Linked DNA regions of Homo sapiens: region 1 is linked to region 2. The links are contacts of gene promoters, found by promoter capture Hi-C in blood cells and fetal thymus (Javierre and others, 2016). All regions are on one chromosome and are shown on one strand. Each heading gives the region's core, a stretch centred on a gene start or on the middle of the fragment in contact. The rest is flanking DNA. Distances are from core to core; before and after follow the strand shown.

What was found. The method cuts DNA at HindIII sites, captures the fragments that hold promoters and counts their contacts. A CHiCAGO score of 5 or more calls a contact.
Region 1: a contact is called between a fragment that was not itself captured here and the fragment with the promoter of DBR1 in region 2, in 1 of 17 cell types (naive B cells). The highest score is 6.9, in naive B cells.

Annotation. Positions count from the first base shown.
Region 1 is chr3:138,947,920-138,952,377 of GRCh38, forward strand. FOXL2NB (FOXL2 neighbor) reads left to right here. Exons shown (of 3, transcript NM_001040061.3): 2 at 1,601-1,720; 3 at 2,346-4,458. The coding sequence ends at 2,653. Among named protein-coding and RNA genes, the nearest start is that of FOXL2NB, 2.9 kb to the left of the region's middle. The HindIII fragment of the contact is 1,502 bases long and covers 1,132-2,633 here.
Region 2 is chr3:138,173,559-138,178,051 of GRCh38, forward strand. DBR1 (debranching RNA lariats 1) reads right to left here and starts at 1,363. Exons shown (of 8, transcript NM_016216.4): 1 at 1,041-1,363; 2 at 1-68. The coding sequence starts at 1,237. RefSeq lists an enhancer at 1,069-1,278. The HindIII fragment of the contact is 14,113 bases long and covers 1-4,493 here.

The DNA.
Region 1 (4,458 bases), core at 633-3,132, 770 kb after region 2:
CACAGGGGTCACATATGGAAGTCATGGAGAGGAGCTGTCCTTGAGATGGGTGAGATACCAGGTGCATGTGTGCTGCTCAGAAACACAGGTATGCACATGTACAAGGTGTGAGATTTGTATTTACGAGGTAAAACACACTTATACTGATAGTTATGTAATATGTTCATCAAGTATTAGAGTAAATGTAGCTGGTGGATATAGCATCTTCTCTTTTTCTCCTTTCTTACTTCTTTCCTTCCCCCCTTTCTTCCTTTCTTTCACAATTCTTCGATGCCTCTTTCCCTCCCAGTGTATGTATTTTGCCACAGACTGGGAAGACAAACATCAGGCTGAGGGAGGGACTTGTTCAAATCTCTCTCCTGATGAGACATTTGTTCTGATCTTTCTCCAAAGAATCAGGAGTTAGTTGTCACCTACCTTAAGCAGAATTCTGATGGGAATCCAATTATTTCAGCATGTACAGAGATTGTTTCAGGGAAAATCAGGTGTGCCTTTTAACAGTGTGCTCCTTAACAGTGCCTTTTAACTTGGCCTAAACAAAAAGTCTGCAGTCATAAAGTATGAGAGAGATGGCCAGTGTTTTGAATCCTCAAGCCCCAAACTCCTTGGTGCTGAGGAGGGGGGCAAGGCCACCTTATGGAGGAAGGTGGACTGAATGGATGTCATATAGCTGTGCATTAGTGATTGGCATGTCTGGAGTGGCTGACTCAATGCCTGTCACTGCCTCTTCCTCCCAGGCTGTTTAGACTCTGAGGGTTCTCCTGAAGCCCAAGGAGCCTTCAGCGGCCTGTGGTTCCAGCATCCACAGGCCATCTACAAGTGTTGTCTGCTGCTCACTCAGGCCTCTGATCTGCATTCTGAGATGAAAGGGAGGGAGGACAAGGGTGGTAGGGCTCTTTGGAATTCAGCATCTTGAAGATGACACCAGAGAGGTCAGCAGGGCAGCCCTTGCCTGGTCACAAGGATGAGAGGGAGCAAGGCTATCCCCAAAGTAGCTTGGTTTTTTTTATGGGCGGTCTCCCACTGCACCCAACAGACATGGGGGAAGCAGCACTTCCGCAGAATCCCTGCTGCTGCTTTCTGAGCAGGAGTGCAGATGTTTTTCTTCTTCCTTACCCCCATCCTTGCCCAAGCTTTGGGTGGGAGTGGTGAGTCCGGTTTGGGGCTGCTGCAGATTGGCCTCAGTGCCTATCCTCCCCCAGCCAGGGCCTGGGCAGGGGGAAAAACAGCTGGGTCTGGCCCCATCCTGGTGGGGGCTCCTCTCTCCTTTTCTCTCCTTTTTTTTTTTCTTGACCACCCAGGCTGGCTCTCTGCGTCTCTCTGTCTTTCTTTCTTCTTCTCACAGGCATTTCCGCTGCTCAGCCCTGCAGCAGCCAGGTGTAACAGCATTGTTGTGTGTGTCATCACTTCCCTGAATTCCACACTCGGCTCCCTTTTCAGCCTTTAAAGAGCCTGTGTGTGTATGCATGTGCGTGTGTGTGTGTGTGTGTGTGTGTGTAGGGGTTGGGGGCAAATGAAGGAGTTCCTCTGAAGGATTTTCAGAATAGAAAGGAGTTCTGCTCTGAAAATACTGATTTCTGACTGTCCCGTAGAGGAACAGAATCCCCAGCCCTGGTGAAGAAGAGGATGCCTGATGCGTGCACCCTGGGAAGGGCTGGAATCGGTCTCCCCAAGATGTGCCTTCACATGGCTGTCCGGCATTCGAAGGCTCAGAAAACAGGCAAGAAAATGCGGGCGGGAAAGCTGGCAGAATGATTACTTTCAGGTCCCCTCCAGGCTTCTGCGGAAAAGCCAGGGGCTTCGGGCTGGAGATAGAGGAATCTAGGGAGAGAACAGAATCCTCTCCTTGCCGGCCCAGCCAGAGGTGGGTGAACCGGGCGCTCCAGGAAACGGTGCGGGGCGCCCTGATTTACTTCTCAACCTTCGGAGGTAGGCTGGTTGCTGGCGAGGTCGGGATCCTCTCTGAACAGGGCATACTGTGCCTAGGTTTTGTGGACGCCAGGGCCGGTTCCTTTTCTCCCCGCGGCATTGGGGCGACGCAGGGCCCCCGGCTTAGTGACCTTGGGGCGGCGCTCACCTCCAAAGGCCAGGGTGGTGGGCTGGGCAGAACTCACTGCCTCTTTGCCCCAGTTTTCCAGGGTCCCGCAGCTGCAATTCAGCAGCCACCGGCGCCTCCTGACCGTGGTCCCACCGTAGCGCCGCCTGCGGATACGGTTCCAGTGAACCGCCGATTGAGCGCAGTCTCAGCTCCCGCGCCTCCTCGCAGCCTGGCCCCGCGCCTCGGAGGTCCCGACAGCCGGCGCGAGCAATCTACACGGCTCTGATACAGACGCTTTTCTCCCCAGGGCCGGGAATCCTGCAACAGCGGCAGAAGCCGCCCGCGCCTCGGGCTTCCGGCGGCCCAGCTCTACTAGGGAAGCGTCGCGGCTGCTCTGAGGCAGGCAGCGCTTCGCTAGAACCACTCAGCTCGTCCCGCGCCGCCGCCGGCTGCCTGAACCAGGTTCCGCTGTCCCCTTTCCTAGCGGGACCCCGAAACACCCGGCGGCTTCCCGCTCCTGAGCGGGAGAGAATAGAGCTTGCTGCAACCCTCTGCTTGGAGGGATGGCCTCTGCGGTGCTTGGCTAGCAAAGGGAAGCTTCACTGTGTCTATTAGTACATCCCCATACACTCCACGCCTCAACAACTGTCAGCACTCACTCCCTCCCGGCCCCTCACAGGGCCCTTTGCACCCACACCTCAGGGACTCGGTGTCCCTCCACTCAGGTCACGTTACTCCATCCACTTCTCTCTCCTTCTCCCTCTGTCAACTCCAAATCCCCTCTAGTTCTCCCTCCCCTCCTACTTCTCTCACACTCACCAGCTACACGTACTAATTCAGATTTTGCACATGTTGGTGGAAAACATGTCAAGCCAATGTGCAGACCCTAAGGCTTTTCACACGCTGCTCACTTTCGCATCTCACGGTGCAGAAGGACCAATGGGCTCCAGGTTTACAAGCCTGACTCCGAGAAGCCTGTTGATTCTCTGATGTCCTTGGCCTGTGATTCGGGTGACTGGGCTGCCACCTGGGTGTTTTCATGATGGGACTGCCGCACAGACCACAGAGAAGCTCAGGTACTGAGCACGTTCCAGATACACTTTAACATGCACAGGCCACTCACACAGGCTTTATCTCTGTCTCGAAACTCTGCTGAGTTTGCTGCTCAGACCAACAAGGTGCAGCAGCAGACACCCACATAGCACCAGGTCTGAAGCCAGTGGGTATTAGTCTGCCTGGTTGGGATTAGCAAAGTCAGTTACTCACATATGTGCTTGGGAGAGAATAGGGGAGTGGAGAGAGAGAGAGAGATATTGAGGAAGAGGAAAGAGAAGCGACCTCCTACTCTGGGAAGAACTCACACATGAGAGCTGTTTCCTGTTGTTAAGTGTCTCACTGAGCTCCCCTCTTTCTCCCCCAGGAAGGGCTTGAGAGGCAGTAGACCAGAGCTCTGGGCTCCTCTTTACCTTGCTGATGTTGGGGTATGAGTCCTCCAACACCATTTTGTCCCAAGGAGTATGTGCCCCATCGTCAATCAGGCAGAATGCAGGGCAGTTGTCGGCCTTTTTCATGGTGGAGGCCAACTGGGAAAAAGGCAGAAGGGTCTGGGTCCTGGGCCAAGTGAGGCCCTCTTCCCTCCAAAGACCCGTGGGATGCTCTCAGAGGCGGATTCTAGGGTGGTGGGAGCTGCTGACAAGTTTCCTCTGATATCCCTCATGACATCTATGGCCCAAAGCCATTTTGTTCAGCTCTGAACAGTGAGTGCCTTGCCAGTAGGCCTCAGGCTTGCTGGGGAACATGATGTGTTCTTAAAAGTTGCCTTGTTGCCTTTCTCCACACCCAGACTGTAAGCGCTGATGGGCAGAGACTCTGCCCTCCACTTCTCACTCAGTGCTCCCCACCAGGATGGGCTTAATGCCTTTTAATAGAATTAGAAAATGGTTCTGCTGGACAGAATTGGGAAATGCCACTTTCCTTATAATGAAGTTATAATGAAGTTAGAATTTCCAAGAAAGGGACTGTAGCTGAGGAAAAGCGGTTTGATCATTGACAGCCAGCTCAGGATCTGAGAGTTCTTTGCCATTTGGGGTTATTATAGCTGCATGGCCATGGTGCTGAACCTTAGGCAAGGGCAAGGACACCTCCCTAGTTCCCAGTCATGGTGAGGACCTGTCTGAAACATTCAAACTAGACTTTACTGGAAACAGAGAAGTCTCTGCATTCAGGGCAGCTGGCTTGCAAGGTAAGGCCTGCAGTCTCCACCCGCACGCTAACCCATGAGGGGATGCCAGAGAGAGCCCTTCCCCCTTGGTCCTCATTCCTGGCTCAATTTTCTCCCACAAAGCGGGCACTTTCTAAAGATGATAGGCAACTGCCATGGAGGAAGGCAGTTTTAGATGCCTAGCTGGCACAAAGTCCAG
Region 2 (4,493 bases), core at 113-2,612:
TTGAGGCTTCATGGTTTCCCCCAATGAAGAGCGTGAGAACTGGAGCCTTTTTCTCTCCAGAGTAATACCTAGAACATAAGAGCAAAGTCAGTTACCACAATTAGGCATAGCAGAAAAGCAAATAAGTTCCGAAAAAAAAAAAGAAACTGAGTTCATCATAAAAAGTTAAAAAGCTCTTTCAAAAGGAATTGCCTGGGGCTGGGCGCGGTGGCTCCCTCCTGTAATCCCAGCACTTTTGATGGCCGACACAGGCGGATCCCCTGAGGTCAGGAGTTCGAGACCAACCTGGCCAATGTGGTGAAACCCCGTCTCTACTAAAAATGCAAAAATTAGCTGGGTGTAATCCCAGCTACTCGGGAGGCTGAGGTGGGAGAATCGCTTGAACCCAGGAGACGGAGGTTGCAGTGGGTCAATATCGCGGTACTGCACTCCAGCCTGGGCAACAAAGCGAAACTCTGTCTCAAGAAAAAAAAAAAAAAAAAAAAAAGGAATTGCCCAGTATCCATCCTTGCCCTTAGGAATGAAGAGCTTCCACCTTGAGCCTCAAGTCAGTGCCCGTTCAATTAAGTCAAGAACTGTTTCGAGTTCATTGCCATAACCTCATCTTCTAGAACCACAACAAGCACATAGCAGGGGCCCAGTAAAAACTTCAGGATCATTGAATGAACTAATTCCAGAGTCCTATCAAGTACAAGGTAGCTATCTAAACCTGTCAGCTTCTTCCTCCAGGTTATCCCCTCCCAGGCTTCGACACCCTTTGAAATGGATAAGATGTGTATGGAAAGAAGGAAAGTGACATTTCCTAAGCACCTAATGAGATAGGGTGCTAGTGAAACTGACATAATTTGGTACCTAACTGAATACAGTACCGAACTGAATACATTTCCCGCCTCCCACTACCTCACCCCTGTATTCAGTTAGGCACCAATTAGAGATACAGAGAGAACAAAGACAGGATCTAAGGGAAACAGGCAGCCAGTGGCAGAGGGAACCCAGTCCCACCCCCCCACCGCCAAGTCCGGGCCCGGCCGCGTCCTCACCTGTAGAAGGTTTGCATGTGACGATACTTGGGCGGCACGGCCATGCAGCGTAGATCCGCCTCGTTGCGCACCGCCTGGAAGTCGCCGCAGCACAGCAAGAGGTCGACAGGCCCCGGGCCGCGCCGCTCTGCCAGCGCCAGCGTCTCATAGATCTTATCCAGCTCGCCGTGGCAGCAGCCAGCCACAGCCACCCGCATTCTGCCGGCCTGAGGAGGTGAGCGCTGCCTGCAACGCCCTACACCACAGCCAGCCCAGGACCGACTGATCGCTCAGCTCCCGCCAACTTTAATAAGTATAGCCACCGCCTGGGTGTAGACTCCTGCAAAATAATTCACTTCCGGTTTCCAGATCTCGCGAGAGAGGGACCGGGAAGGTCAAACCTAATTCTGGGATCCCAGGGAACTTATTTTCTTTTTTTCCTTTTTTCTTTTTTTTTAATTATTGTTTTATGCAGTCAATATTTTTTTGTATATACATCCACAAATGTACTCTTTCCATCCTTACTCTTTTCTTCCTGGATTTCCATTTTTCTCTTTGGAATCATTTTTCTTCTGTCTGAAGAGCTCAGTTTAAGTTTTCCTGTTTGTTTAGTGTAGGCCGACGACAGATTAATTTTTTTCTAGATATTTGTTTGTTTAAAAATTTCTTTCCACTCTGGGGAAAATGGTGAAACCCTGTCTCTACTAAAAATACAAAAATTAGCTGGGCGCAGTAGCGCACGTCTGTAATCACAGCTACTTCAGAGGCTGAGGCAGGAGAATCCCTCAAACCCAGGAGACGGAGGTTGCAGTGACCTGAGATCGCGCCCCTGCACTCCAGCTTGGGCGACAGAGCGAGACTCCGTCTAAAAAAAAAAAAAAGAGACAAAAGAGAAAGAGAGAGAGAAGAAAAGAAAAGAAGCCAGTGTGCTGGCTCACACCTGTAATCCCAGCACTTTGGGAGGCAGAGGCGGGCGGCTCACGAGGTCAGGAGTTTGAGACCAGCATGGCCAACATGGTGAAACCCTGTCTCTACTAAAGATACAAAAAATTAGCTGGGCGTGGTGGCGCACACCTGTAATCCCAGCTACTTGGGAGGCTGGGGCAGGAGAATCGCTTGAACCCAGGAGGCAGAGGTTGCAGTGATCTGAGATCGTGCCATTGCACTCCAGCCTGGGTGACAGGGTGAGACTCCGTCTAAAAAAAAAAAAAAGAAAAAGAAAGAAAGAGATGTCTTTGTTTCACCTTAATTCATAAAGGGTGTGTTTACTGAGTACCGAATACCAGTTAAGCAGTGTGTGTGTGTGTGTGTGTGTGTGTGTGTGTGTGTGGTTTTTTTTTTACAAAGCATTTCAAAAATAGCATTCTATTATCTTCTGGCTTGCATTATCTTCTACTGAGAAGTCACCTATAAACTTAAGGTTTTTTTTCACTGAAAGTAATGTGGGTTTTTTGTTTGTTTGTTTGTTTTTTGTTTTTTTGAGACGGTCTCTCACTCTGTTGCCCAGGCTGGAGGCAGTGGCACGATCTCGGCTCACTGCAACCTCCGCCTCCCCAGTTCAAGCGATTCTCCTGCCTCAGCCTCCCAAGTAGCTGGGATTACAGGTGCACACCACCATGCCCAGCTAATTTTTTGCATTTTTAGTAGAGACAGGGTTTCACCATGGTGGCCAAGCTGGTTTCGAACTCCTGACCTCAAGTGATACGCCCACCTCGGCTTCCCGAAGTGCTAGGATTACAGGCGTTAGCCACCGCGCCCAGCCAGTAATGTGTCTTTTTCTTTGCTATTTACTGTTTTCTCTTTCTCTACTTTCTCTCCCTACTCCTTAAAGCTATTTTAATAAAATATATCTAGGTGGTTTTTTTTTTGAACTTTACTCATTTATGCTTTCTGAATCTATAGCTTGGTATCTTTTTTCAGTTTTGGAATATTCTTGGTCAGTATCTACTTAAATGTTGCTTTTTTTTCTGTCTTTTCCTACTCCTTTGGAATTTTTCCATGGTATTTTACCTATCTTTTATTTCTATTCCATAGTTCTCATTTTTATCAGTGTTTTATTTTGGATAGTTTCTAATAACCTCTCTTCTAGTTTACTAATCCTATTTTGTTCTATGTCCAATGTACAAACTCATTTATTAATGTTTTAACATTATAGTCCTTTTCAATTTTAGGATTTATATTGGATTCTTTTCCAGTGAAGCCAATAGTTTAAAGAGATTCTTTATCTTTTAATTTATTTCCTTCATCTTTTCCTCTCTTTCTCTCATATATTAATCATTGTTATTTTAGGTTGCCTGTCTTCTAAGCCCAATATCTTACTTATCTGCAGAGCTGATTCTATTGTCTGTTTCTGTTTCATTGGATTCTTAGTTTAAAAATCTCGTTTTTTGGCCGCGGTGACTCCCACCTGTTGTCCCAGCACTTTGGGAGGCCAAGGTGGATGGATCTCTTGAAGCCAGGAGTTCGAGAGCAGCCTGGCCAACATGGTGAAACCCTGTCTCTACTAAAAATAAAGAACTTAGCTGGGGGTGGTGGCGCATGCCTGTAATCCCAGCTACTTGGGAGGCTGAGGCGGGAGAATCGTTTGAACTCGGGAGGCGGAGGTTGCAGTGAGCCGAGATTGCGCTGCTGCACTCCAGCCTGGGCTACAGAGTGAGACCCTGTCTCAAAAAGAATAAATAAATAAATAAATATCTCGTTTGTGTGTGTGTGTGTATATATATATATATATATATATTCCAGGATACATGTGCAGGTTATGCAGATTTGTTACACAGGTAAACGTGTGCCATGATGATTTACTGCGCCTATCAACCTATCACCTAGGTATTAAACCCAGCATACATTAGCTATTTTTCCTGATGCTCTCCGTACCTTGCAGATCACTTGAGGCCAGGAGTTCGAGACCAGCCTGGCCAACATGTATCTCTCCAAAAATACAAAAATTAGCAGGGCGTTGTGGCACATGCCTGTAGTACCAGCTACTGGGGAGGCTGAGGCAGGAGAATTGCTTGAACCTGGAAGACAGAGGCTGCAGTGAGCGGAGATTGCACCACTGCACTCCAGCCTGGGGGACAGAGCAAGACCCTGTCTCAAAAAAAAAAAAAAAAAAGAGAGAAGAAAAGAGGATTCTTGGGCTTGGTCTGTCTTCACCTATCTTTACAGGTCCTTGAGTCCTAGCAGTCTCACGGATGATAAAATTCTAAATTAGGATAGTAAATAGAATCCCCAATAGTAGGAATTTAGTTTGATAAAATTAAACTAAGATAAACGAGCAAGCAGGCGCAAATGGCGAATTCCTTAGGACGAACTTCTCAAGGCAAAGACAATTGCCTGAAAGTGAATCAGAATTTAAAAAAATTTTGACACCCCAAAATAATTATTTTTAAATAAAACTTTAAAACCCACCAAGGATTTAAAAACTATCTCCCTCCGCCGGGTGCGGTGGCTCACGCCTGTAATCCCAGCACTTTG